Linked DNA regions of Homo sapiens: region 2 is linked to region 1. Evidence: promoter capture Hi-C in human tissues and cell types (Jung and others, 2019). All regions are on one chromosome and are shown on one strand. Each heading gives the region's core, a stretch centred on a gene start or on the middle of the fragment in contact. The rest is flanking DNA. Distances are from core to core; before and after follow the strand shown.

Region 1 (6,738 bases), core at 4,237-6,736:
CACAGAAATAGATCTTTAATATATTCTGTCAAATTTTTGAAAAGACCCTTGTCTCTCAGTGATGAAAATGCCTGATTGACTCATAGCTCAAACCGAATGGGAAAGGAATAACTAACAATAAAAGCTACCTGAATTCCCAGCACTTTGGGAGGCCAAGGCAGGCAGATCACGAGGTCAGGAGATAAAGACCAACCTGGGTAACACGGTGAAACCCTGTCTCTACTAAAAATACAAGAAAATTAGCCAGGTGTGGTGGCAGCCGCCTGTAGTCCCAGCTGCTCGGGAGGCTGAGGCAGGAGAATGGCATGAACCTGGGAGGCAAAGCTTGCAGTGAGCCAAGATTGAGCCACTGCACTCCAGCCTGGGCGACAGAGTGAGACTCCGTCTCGAAAACAAAACAAAACAAAACAAAAAACTACCTGAATGTACCAAATAGCAATTGAAGTTTGCAAACAATGACCTTGAGTCATCTGCTTACAGAAGGTGTCTATCTGTCTTTTGGACAAAGGACTTCTGATGAAGAGGATGGAGTGGACCATATTCTTTAATCCATGACGTTATTTGTCCCCATCAAATACAAATATCTAAATGTATTTATATATTTTCATTATCACTAGTCCTCATTCTCATTCCCCTCACTCCCCAGTGGGATCTATCCTACTAATATATATCCTTTTGTCTGTGTCTTTGTATAATGTGTACTATTTTGAATATATCATTCTCATTTAAGTCAATAGAGTTCCGCAATCACTTACTCACAATTCTTAAACTTACACAGCTCTGGACACCAGAAGTTTTCTCTTAAATTCTTAACAGCGAAATCTGACTGAAGCGACAAGGGGTTACTTGGGGTTCTTTAGCCACTCAATGTAACTATTCCTATGTTTTGCTGCGGAACTATTATGCTTGATTATGCGATGCCACCTCTTCCTTTTCTAAATTCCAAGCATTTTGAATTCCAAAAACAAATCTGAGCCCCCCCATTTTTTTCTTTTTCTTTCTTTCCTTTTTCTTTTCTTTTAAGTGAGACAGGGTCTCACTCTGTTGCCCAGGTTAGAGTACAGTGACACAATCATGGCTCACTATAGCCTTGACCTTCCGGGCTCAGGTGATCCTCCCACCTCAGCCTACTTGGTAGGTGGGAGTACAGGCATGTGCCACCATGCCTGACTAATTTTTGTATTTTTTGTGGAGATGGGGAATCCCTATGTTGCCCAGGCTGGTCTCAAACTCCTGGGTTCAAGCAATCCACTTTCCTTGGCTTCCCAAAGTGCTTGGATTACAGGCATGAGCCACTGTGCCCAGCCCCAAAGGGTTTTAATTGTCTACTTATACATTATAGAGAGAGATCTTACTCTGTTTTCCTGTTTTTACTCAGTATTATATTTTTAATACATATCCATGTTACTGCATGTACATCTAGTCTATTACTTCTAACTGCCGTAGAATACTCCATGAAGTGGATCCCTACATTCCACTCACCCACTCCCCCAGTAATGAGCAGCTACATTGCCTCCAGTTCCCCATCACTACAAACAATGACTTAATGAACATCCTCATACATGTTCCTTTGTGGACCTGTATGAGAATCTCCATAGGATATACACCCAGGGTTAACAGCTGGGTCATGGGTGTGAATATACTTAATCTGGTCAAGGAATGCCAGAATACCCTTCAAAACAGCCATGTCAGCCTACTGGCATGGTGTGATATAATAGATCCTGTAGTCCCCCATTTTCCCAACACTTACCAGTATCCAGTGTTCTCAACTTGTCAGTCTAAGAGGTGTAAAGAGATATCTCATTCTTTTTTTCATTTGCATTTTCTGATATAACTGAGCCTCCAGGTATGCTCATTAGTCTTTGGGGTTTCTTCTCGTTAAATTGCTTATTCATGAGCTTTACGCATTTTTTACTAGTGTTTCTGTCTTTTTCTTGCTGACTTACAAGAGTTCCTTGTTTTTAGACATTGAAAATATTGGTTTTAGACACTGAAAAATATCTTCTCTCAATCTGTCAGCTGTCTGTTCATTTGGTTCATGCATAGAGGAAATGTGTAAAACAGAAATCTTCATTTTTATGTAATCCAATTGATAGGTATTTTGCCTTATGGTTTGGAGCTTTAGAAGTTTTAAAAAAGTCCTTCCCACTTATAAGTGACAAAGACAGTCCTCTATATTTTCTTCTACTACTGTAACAATTTTACTTTTCACATTTGGTCTTTAATTCACTTCCAAATGGATTCACCTCTGTTGTTTTAGATTGGAGTCCAGTTTTATTTTTCATCATACGCTGAACATTTTCTCTTTTTAAAAAAATTTTTTGTAGGGAGTTTTTGCTCAGACTGGCCTTGAACTACTGACCTCAAGCAATTCTCCTGCCTTGACCTCCCAAAGTGCTGGGATTACAGGTGTGAGCCATTATGCCCAGCCCATTGAGTATTTTCTACTAAATATTGCATGTTTTCCTCATTGATCAGGGAATCATCTGTATTATCTTATACTTAATACCCAAATATACAAATCTATCTATAATTTCTCTACTCTGTTTCAATGGTCCATATGCCTGATCTGTTGCAAAGATCACTACTTTAATTTCTATGGCTTTAAATTATGTCCATATGTGATAGGGTTAGTCCCCCTTTTCATTATTCCCTTAGCATTTTTACTTAAGGCCAGGAACAGCAGCTCACGCCTGTAATCCCAGCACTTTGGGAGGCCAAGGTGGGTGGATCACTTGAGCCCAGGAGTTTGAGACCAGCCTAGGCAACAAAACTAGACTCCGTCTCTACAAAATACAAAAATAAAAATTAGCTGGACATGATGGTGTTGCCTGTGGTCCAAGCTACTCAGGAGGCTGAAGTGGGAGGATCACTTTAGCCCAGGAGGTCAAGGCTGCAGTGAGCTGTGACTGTGCCACCACTACACTCCAGCCTGGGTGATACAGTAAAACCATGTCTCAAAAAAAATTTTTTTAACTTAGTCATAGATTTTATTACATCTGTATTTTAGAGTAGGCTTATTATTAAGTTTCTGAGAAAATTTATTTGTAGCTTGTATTGGAATTACATTGAGCATGTGAATTAACGAAAAGAGGCTTAAGCTTTCTATATAGAGAAACCTTCCACCCAAGGGTATAGAATTATTTAATTAAATCACACTATATTCTTGACTGAACTTTAAAATTTTTCTCCAAACACTATTCTGTAGTTATCCAAGCTCATGTAATAATCATAATAACTCTATACTGTAGGTACTTTTATTATCATCATTTAACAGATGAGGAAACTGAGCCCAGAGAGATAAATAACTCACCTAAGAACACACAGCAAGTAAGTAGCAGAACCTGGATTAACATAGTTTAGTCCATACTCTTAGCCATTATACTGCCTCTGTATCTACAGTCAGTTACTTTATAGTTTGGCTGCTTCTATGCATGTCATCTTGTTTTTATTACATTTTCTGATGGATTGTTGCAGATACAAAGAAAATCGGCTGATTTTTTTTAAGTTGATATGTGTATTGCATGATGTTGTTAAATTCTCTTCTTAGTTCTAATAGTCTATTAATTTTTTTTCTTTTTGTATATCAACTGTAAAAAGTGACAGTTTTACCTTTTCTTTTCCAATGTTTAAAGCTCTCATTTCTTTTTCTTTCCTTATAGCATTGGCCGAGACCTCCACGACAATGCTACACACTGTGAAGTAGTGATTGTGAGCTAAGACTGTCACTTATAGAAAAATCATGTATTCCTAGAAGAAGGTTTTCATTTCATCTTAGCTAGAGGACATGGAGCACTTCAGGAAACTATTTCACAAAAATGTAAATTAGAAACTGTGTCTGGTAGCCAATAATCCATTTTTAACAGTGGCCCTGTGCTCATCTAAGCAACAGAAATTACTTTTGTATAGGAGATGGCCCTTCCAGGGGAGAAACAGCTCAGTTGTGATACACTTGTCTTCATCCTGACTTTAAGTACATTTAACTCCACACTAAACCCTTGTGGCCACAACACAGCTCTGCACCTGTCATTTGCTCTAGACAAACTGCTAAACGCAATTGTTTCTGACAATGGATTACTCTGTATCCCGTGGGGGAATTCTCAGACAGCAGCATTAGAAGGGGCCTTAGAGATCAACCATTTCTCTTATTTTACACACACCTAAAACTCCCTACAGCCGTGCTTCATCAGCTTCGAGCAGATGAGCCACCCAGAAGGCAGCTCCAGTTATTAGGTCCTAGGGCCTGGGTGTAGTCAGGCCCTTTGGAAGCTCCAAGTCAGAGATCAAACACATCCTCCCCACTACCCACGCCTAGGGTGACTAATGCCTGTGGGAAAAACAACTGAACTAAAAAGTCCCACAGGAACCTCAAACCCAGCACATCCAAAATGGAACTTCTCACCATCTCCTCCAAACTCAGTCCTCTTATACAGTAATCCCTGTAAAGCTAGAACAATCTCCATTCCCCATTCTCAGGGCCTTCCTCTCCCGCTCACCTGAGGAGCTACCAAGCCTTGGCCCACAAGCCCTCTGAGAGTCCCTCCTGCCCACCCTGTGTTCTCCATACTGAATAAGGACTTGGCCACACCTTGTCAACTCTTCCCTCTGCTCTACTCCTGACCCCTGGATCCATCCTTCATGCTGTGGCTGAAGGGATCCCCCCATCATGCAAATTCTGCCACATCTCCCGCCTAAAACCCAGGAAGACTCCCCACTACTCTCAGCACAGAAAGTACACTCCTTAGTATGGCATCCCCTGCCCTCATGGCATGGCCCCATCCAGCCCTCCAGCCTCACACCCTGCAAGGACACCTAGACCCCCACCTCCCTCAACCCTTCATGACTGCGCTTCTGATCCCTGTTTCCCCTGGCTAGACCCTGCGTGCCCTCCCGCTGGAAGCGGTCTAATGCCTGCTTGTTTTTAACACTCAGGTTGGGGCCCCTGCCTGCTCCCGGGAGCCTTTGCTGACTCCTGGACCCCGTTGCTCCGGCTGAGCGTGGGCTCTTTCTCTAGGTCTTTCCTCCCAGGACTCTGTGTATTCATCCTATCGTTAAACTGGATTCTCTACAAGAGTAATAATTGCAGAGTCAGCCAGCTCTCATCCCTTTTCAGGTTTCAGAAAAGACCTGTGAACAAAACGCCTTGAGTCTGATTTAGTGTGGCAATGCCCCAAGGGTCCTGTTCTCCCTGGGTGTCCTGCACCTGGTGCAACGTCGGCCTGGCATCTAGTGAGCCATCTAAAGGAACGATGATGAGTGAATGATTTGCCTACCCCTTCCAGTACTAGGCTGGAGGTCGTGGTTAGGGCCCATCCCTACGCAGGACATGCAAAGTGGGAGGCACTCCTCTCTCTACGTCGGCAGGGGGCGCTGCACAGCTGCGGGGCGGGGTAGCTTAGACACGGGGCGTCCGGCTAAGGCCGGGGACCCAGGGTGGTGGGCGGGGTGTCCCGCCCGCCTGTGGACCCCGCGCAGTAACTGCGAACATTTCGCTTTCATTTTGGGCCGAGCTGGAGGCGGCGGGGCCGTCCCGGAACGGCTGCGGCCGGGCACCCCGGGAGTTAATCCGAAAGCGCCGCAAGCCCCGCGGGCCGGCCGCACCGCACGTGTCACCGAGAAGCTGATGTAGAGAGAGACACAGAAGGAGACAGAAAGCAAGAGACCAGAGTCCCGGGAAAGTCCTGCCGCGCCTCGGGACAATTATAAAAATGTGGCCCCCTGGGTCAGCCTCCCAGCCACCGCCCTCACCTGCCGCGGCCACAGGTCTGCATCCAGCGGCTCGCCCTGTGTCCCTGCAGTGCCGGCTCAGCATGTGTCCAGCGCGCAGTGAGTACTCAGCCCGCCAGGTCTTTGGCTCGCTCGGGTGCGGAGGGGCGGCTGCTTGGGAAGAGTGGGTAGAAACTCAAGTCTGCCTAAGGAGAGACTGGAACAGCAGCAGCCGTCTCCTGCAAAGAGGAATAAGAATAGGGGTCTCACCGTGTGCTAAATAGGGCATGTCTCTTTTCATCTCGAAACAGCCTGATGAGCTATCATTATGCCCACTTCGTAGAGGAGAAACTGAGGCCCAGCGTGGGAGATTTCCTGCTTTCCTGCCTAGGGTCCCTCAGCTACAAACAGAAGGCAGATCCTAGCCAGTTCTAAAGTCAGGCTTGGCCGGGTGCAATGGCTCACGCCTGTAATCCCAGCACTTTGGGAGGCCAAGGCGGACAGATCTCCTGAGGTCAGGAGTTCAAGACCAGCCTGACCAACATGGTGAAACCCCGTCTCTACTAACAAATACACAAATTAGCCGAGTGTGGTGGTGGGTGCCTGTAATCCCATCTACTCGGGAGTCTAAGGCAGGGAAAATTGCTTGAACTCGGAGGTGGAGGTTGCAGTGAGCCAAAATCGTGCCACTGCACTCCAGTCTGGGCCACAGAGTGAGACTCCGTCTTAAAAAAACAAAAAAAGTCAGGCTTTCTCACTCCACTGTTTTTAAAACACTGGGTCCCAAGTCTGACTCAGCCACTTCACCACCTGGTCTGGGTTTCCCTGATCAAAAACATGTAGGCTTTCTCTGGGTGAGTGTTGGGTTCAACACCCTTGTCCAAGCTCATCTCTAGACCCTCACAGGGAGCTGGCTTCTAGCCCTAGAATAGAGTGGCGCTTTGTAATAACTCGAGTCATCTCTCAGGTGTTGAAGGAAAAGTGTTGGAAATGGGTTGAGGGAGGTGGGTGCCAAGCATGAATGGATGGGTG
Region 2 (6,738 bases), core at 2,115-4,614, 360 kb before region 1:
AGTAATATACTAGGTTTACAGTATCACTAGAGTTCTTTTTATCTCAAGATCGTAAGGACCTTTGCAATTTCATTAATCCTTACAAGTGAATGCTCAAAAATATTGGCCTCTATACAAATGTTCCCCTTAATAATACAAATTACAATAATCTTTTGTAAAGAAATAATTTACAGCCGGGCATGGTGGCTCACACCTGTAATCCCAGCACTTTGGGAGGCCGAGGCGGGTGGATCACGAGGTCAGGAGATCGAGCCCATCCTGGCTCACACAGTGAAACCCCGTCTCTACTAAAAATACAAAAAAATTAGCCGGGCATGATGGTGGGCCCAGTAGTCCTAGCTACTAGGCAGGCAGAGGCAGGAGAATGGCATAAACCCGGGAGGCGGAGCTTGCAGTGAGCAGAGATTGTGCCACTGCACTCCAGCCTGGGAGACAGAGTAAGACTCTGTCTCAAAAAAATAAAAAGAAAATAATTTACATGGAGGAAACATATGTGCATAGATAGGTGTGCATACACAAATATATATATTCAAAAATGTTTGTTGTAGTGTCATCTGCAGGATTGGCAACAGACTGAATACCTTCCATTAGAAAAACATTGATTGAACCATAGTTAATTCTCTTAAATGAATGATCCTCAGGCAACAGAAATAGACTTACAAGCTTAATAGACTTGAAAATGCTCATCAAGTAGGCATAAGTGTTTTAAAAAGTAAACTGCAAAATTGTATTTATACTATAGATATAATTGTGGAAAAAATAAATGTATATAGACAAGACCTGAAAGGAAATATTTTTAAAGTGGGGAGAAAATTTTTCATAGGAATGGGAAACTTGAGAAGTATATACCTCTTCTGTGTGTTTAAAGTTGTTATAATGTTGTTTGAATAACAAGAAAAGTAATAAACAGTTTTACTTGGGAGGCTGAGGGAGGCGGATCACCTGAGGTTAGGAGTTCGAGACCAGCTTGGTCAACATGGTGAAACCACGTCTCTACTAAAAACACAAAAATTAGCCGGGCATGGTGGCGCATGCCTGTAATCCCAGCTACCAAGGAGGCTGAGGCAAGAGAATTGCTTGAACCTGGGAGGCAGAGGTTGCAGTGAGCTGAGATCGTGCCACTGCACTCCAACCTGGGTGACAGAGTGAGACTCCATCTCTAAATAAATAAATAAACAAAGAGTTTTCCACTTTACATGGAAACTGCTTCTTACATTACCTTTAGTAGGAAAAGTAAATGTTCAGGTGCAGGCTGTAGGGTACTTGTATAAAATTTGGAAGATTTTGGGTAAAAGAATCCTGCAGAGAGAATGTAGTGTACCCCATAAAACCCTAGGATCACATTTAAGCTCTGCCTTAATTTAAAAAGAATCTCTATTTTGCCCATACCCCACGTTTTCTTTCTCTCACAAAAGTAGACAACTTGGGAATGCTAAGTCCATGATAAAAGGTGTTCCCTACTCCCACTGCCTTCCACCTGAGTCTAAGCCTCTTGATTATAGGAGGGACAAGATTCTCCTACAAGGCAGAAATCTGATGTTTCCAAGTTAATGTATAACTAGTCAATCAAAGAACAAATTGTTACTATTTCATATGGCAAAGGTATCTTGTGAAATATGTATAGTGCAAAATTAAAAAAATATATAATGGTTACTCTTTATTGGCCCAGGAATTGTGCTAAGCATTAGCACAATTAGATATGCATTATCACATTTGATCCTCACAGCAACCCTCTAAAATATGTTCCATTAATAGTTCCATATTCCAGATCAAGAACATGAGATTTGAAAATAAATTCACTGTTAAATGGAATCAAAGTAACCTGTGACGCCAAGACCATACTTTAATAGACCTGTACTCTCCAGCTTTCCAAGTACTCATCCAGGTACTTCTAACATTTTTACATTAAAGTCTATCAGGCTTCCTCTGGACAACTCAGTGATTGCCTTTAACGGGCAAAGGTATAATATTCTCCCAGCATGGAGGTGATCTGTGTCCAGGACAGACAAATCCTAGAGGTGGAGAAATGCAGGGTAATTAGGGAGAAACCATGCAGAGAACAAGAAGCTAGAAGATGGAATAATAACTGGGCCTAGAGGTGTGTGTTTTACCCAAAATTCATGGATTATCGACTCACCCACTTAACGAGTGACACCTAAGGCCGTGGAGATTGGGGGTGGAAGGCAGATAGGCATCTACTTGGCTGGAGATTGAAAGGGCAGCTACAAATAATAGCTAAATTTGGGCTAAGGAAGCAATCTTGAGCTAAGCTAATAAGAACCACCATGACCCAGAGATCCAGGGCCCCAAGGAAGAACTAGAAGAGCCTTCCAACGAAAAGGTTGTGAGTCACAGCACCTGAGGGACTTGTTTGGGATTTTTGGCTTTGGCAATCTCCCTGGATAGCCTGAGCCTAAACTTGTAGCTTCCCTTGTGTGCAAGGTTTATACCCTCTAAAACCCTCACACTGAGATGAAAGTTTGCAATGCACTTGAACCAGCATTATATATTGAATTTTGGAATAAAAGGAGCCACTACAGGAAAGGAAGAGGCAGTTAGAGAAAACAAGAACATGAGAACAGTGGTCTTTTGAGGAAAAGCAACAAACAACAGACTTAAGACAACTCAATCACCTTTGCCTTGGGTCTGTGGAACCAGGGGTCTGTGCAGCGCAGTGTGCTGATAAAACCTTGGCCCTTGGAGCTAGAGAAACCAGGTCCACCTCCTAAATCTCCCACTTCCTAACCCTATGGCCTCACTTTGAATCTCTGAATCTGCATTTCCTCATCTGTAAAATAATACCAATCACACCTGCCTCCTAGGGGTTTTGGGAGGCATAAATGGCATAAAGCTTGTGAAACAGCCCACACATAATAAGTGTTCAGCTACTTAAGTCCTGTTTCTCTCTTTTGGTCTGAGAGTCACCCTTATTAACCAGGAAGCTTATGGGGACCAGTTCGAATAGCATTACATTTCAAATACGTACCTCAAGAGCCCAAAGTAACAGCATTGTTCTGTCCTCTTTCTCAAAGAATATTAAAATGATTAAAATACTAAATCTTTTTTCTCTTCTCTTTATTTCCCTCCTACCTAATGTTGCACTAAATTTTTCTAGCGAGTTTGCTTCACGTTAGTAGTTTGCAATCAGCCGTAGTTGGAATTCTTACACCATGGAACTGGGCAAAGGCTACAAATGGGCTCTTTTTTGTTTCCAGAAAGCTGGTTTGTCTGCACACCACTGTTCCAACCCACAGCTTCTCCAAAGCCTTTCTCCTTAACTCCCAACTTATCCCCACCCACCTGCCTCTAGAGTAAACTCATCCTTCACACTCAAGCTTCACGGCTTCCCTCCCTTCTGTATTACCCTCCCTATGTCTCAGCAAGTTAATACGTAGATCAACTGTGCTTCTCCCTACATGTAGAGGACAGAGAAGAACCCAGCTAGCAAATACAGGGCTGTCTGGTGGAATAGGAAAAAGATGCTGTTAAACCAATACTGGGTCAACAGCAGCTTTCCCCTCAGGAGGATTTGACATGAACAGCGATGGTAGTTGCTCTATACTAAACTTGTGGCACCTTCTAAAACTAAGACTGAAGGCTTCCCCACTCTAGAGTGCAGCTTATATAGATAGATAGATAGATAGATAGATAGATAGATAGATAGATAGATAGATATATCTAGATATATATATATATCTAGATATATCTATCTATCTAGATAGATAGATAGATAGATAGATAGATATATCTAGATATATATATATCTAGATATATCTATCTATCTATATAGATAGATAGATAGATAGATAGATAGATAGATAGATAGATAGATAGATTTTTTTTTACCTTAACCAAAGAACAAAAGAAAAGGAAGCAAGTTATTTACTTTGGGAATGAGGGCTTGTGGAGTCTATCTTCCTTCACCTCAGGGGCTATATCACTTACAGCCACTGTCTCAGATGGTACCTGGAGTCCTTCCTGCCCATGTTTCTTGAAGGATCTAATCAGACATGATGTCACCAGTTTCTATACTAGTGGCTCTCTATCAGTGGTCCAACAAGGGTCGTCTGGGGCATGAATGACCCATTATATTATATAATGTGATAGTAAACTCAAGAGGTTAAAAAATTTATCCACCAAACAAAGCTTAGCAAACATAACAGTTTGCCTGGTGTAGATAGTAGTTTGCTTTTTCACATTCAGGCCAGACTAACAAGACCATTCAGTTGTGAGAAGTATCCTTCTCATGTGAGGATTCTACAGGCTGTTGTGTGGTTTGTTGTCCCCTGATGCAGTCCCTGAAGAAGCTGGTCTCCTAGATTGCATTCCTGTCCTCCCTTTTGTACATGCATTGGGATTGGCAAGTGTCCTAGACAAAACAGTATTATATTGCCAGTCAGCTGCCATTTGACTGAGGCTTTTAAGTTCTGGGATACAAGTGCAGAATGTGCAGGTTTTTTACATAGCTATACATGTGCCATGGTGGTTTGCTGCAGCTATCAACCCATCATCTAGGTTTTAAACCCCACGTGCATTAGGTATTTGTTCTAATGCTCTCCCTCCCTTTGCCCCCACCCCGACGGGCCCCGGTGTGTGTTGTTCCACTCCCTGTGTCCATGTGTTCTCATTGTTCAACTCCCACTTATGCATGAGAACATGCACTGTTTGGTTTTCTGTTCCTGTGTTAGTTTGCTGAGAATGATGGTTTTCAGCTTCATCCATGTCCCCGCAAAGACTGTGGCATTTTTGTAATTATTAGTGAAATTATAGACCATGGACTTCTCCACGCCACTATGGTAGCAGAGAATCTTCTAAGTTATCCGTAAAAGATTTATTTAAATATTTTATTTTCTCTCAAACTGCATGGTGAGGCAAATATATTTTATCCACAGGAATGGCCCCAGGCAGAGAAAAGACAGGAAAACAACATTTACTTGGCACTGGCTGTCTGCCAGACACTATTCTCAGCAAATTACCTCATTTAATCCTCACCCTATGAGGGAAGTACTATTATAATTCCCATTTTACAGATACACAAATGAAGAATCAAAGATGTAAAATAATTGCCCAAGAGCTAGAAATTGGTTAGAAACTGGTTGAGCCAGGATTTGCACCTAAGTCTATCTGGCATATTCTTCCCAGTAAGTTGTGCTATGTTGCTTATCTGGGAGTTCATCGCCTAGTGAGATGGCCTAGCCAGGTTGAGCCTATGATGAAGAAAAATATTCATCTGAAGAACAACTTGATAGGCTGAATCAAATTATTTTTAAAATCTACTGGAGGGTTTCTGAGGCTGCCAGGACTTGGAGGCCAAGATCCCGAAGAGAAGAGAAATTTATTGAGGCAATGTCAATATTGTGTGCTTTGCAATGCTTGTAAAAGTGTTTGCTGACTCTTACGTGGTTTTGGACGGAAGGCAGCTGCTGAAAGGTAGATAAAACCCATAGAGCTTTCCATAACCTCATTTGGCTGGAGGAAAGGGTTGGGCTTACTAAAGCAGTCAGAACTTTGGGAACCAAGATCCTAAGAAATAAATTAATGCAGAAAAGTGAACCCATCATTTTAACCAAGTTTTCATCTCAGGACATTTGCTAATTCTTAAGTTTTGAAGAGCAAGAGGCTAAGAAGCCAAAGTAACTGAGGAGTGGAGTTTTTAGCAGTCTTGTAGAGCTGTGAGATCAAAGTTGGAGTTCAAGGCTCACCAAAGAGGAGAAGACCTCTAAGCACTCAGGGACTTACACTAGAGACCTACACTCAAGAAATGTAGGTGAACAGAAGAAGAAACAACTTACAAAGCTTGGAACGAGCTGTGAGGGTTAGGGTCGAATTGTGGAGGTTTGCTCCTGTCTGACAGAATATATTTGGGAAAATAGTTAACATCATCCAGAGCATCTTCAATACTTCATGCACAGTGTCTGACATTCATCTAAAGTTACCATGCATGCCAAGAACTAGGACCAAGAGAAGAAGAAAAACAGAAAATGGAAGCTGACGTACAAGTGATGCAGATATTGGATTTTTCAGACATACTTTAAAATAACTATGATTATTAGGTTCAAGAAAATGCAAAACAAGATATAGAATTTCACCAAAGACCTGGAATCTGTAAGAAAGAATTACACAAACATTCTAGAAATGGAAAAAAATACAAGAATTGAAAGTAAAAGATGTATGAGAACCCAAAGGTATACCTGTTTATTTAAACCCAGAATTTAGGAAAAGCCAACAATACATGTAGACACATAGCTATTAACAGGCATTTTCTATGTGTAAAACAAGGTCAATAAAACAATATAAAAAATAACAAAACACAAAATGACCTTTATAGCATGGCCATAAAATCTGAAATATTAAAGATATCAAAGCAGCACCTGATTATGTTTTAAAGATTTTTTATGTGTAAAAATTTACTAAAAATACAACATAAAATCATAAAAACATACAGTTGGTGGAGAATAGACAAAGCCCACTCTTTAAGAAAAATTGTCTCTATAAAATACACAAAAGATGAGGTAAAAAAAGTGAATCTTCCTTTATTTAGACATTATCCTAAAAATAATAGATGATAAACTCAAAAGAGTACATTCTATCAATTATACATGCTGAAAATACGGTAATGATAATGCATAATATATTCTGTATCTGTAACTCATCAAGTTACTTGAAGTTAAACAAAAACACACACACACACACACACAACTTGATTACATTATTCTCTTAAGAAGACATTGAGACCCC

What was found. Contacts are between HindIII fragments. The study calls those that stand out against the background at their distance.
Region 2: a contact is called between a fragment that was not itself captured here and the fragment with the promoter of IL12A in region 1, in 1 of the 25 tissues and cell types used here (aorta).

Annotation. Positions count from the first base shown.
Region 1 is chr3:159,983,349-159,990,086 of GRCh38, forward strand. It overlaps IL12A (interleukin 12A), which reads left to right and starts at 5,487. Exons shown (of 7, transcript NM_001397992.1): 1 at 5,487-5,826. The coding sequence starts at 5,811. IL12A-AS1 (IL12A antisense RNA 1) reads right to left here. Exons shown (of 10, transcript NR_108088.1): 9 at 5,749-5,945. RefSeq lists enhancers at 3,146-4,345, 5,197-5,697, 5,698-6,198, 5,698-5,747 and silencers at 5,258-5,457, 5,528-5,577. The HindIII fragment of the contact is 7,471 bases long and covers 1,713-6,738 here.
Region 2 is chr3:159,622,466-159,629,203 of GRCh38, forward strand. All of the region lies in intron 4 of IQCJ-SCHIP1 (IQCJ-SCHIP1 readthrough), which reads left to right. The region is part of intron 1 of SCHIP1 (schwannomin interacting protein 1); the gene reads left to right. Among named protein-coding and RNA genes, the nearest start is that of IQCJ-SCHIP1-AS1, 140 kb to the right of the region's middle. The HindIII fragment of the contact is 3,214 bases long and covers 1,758-4,971 here.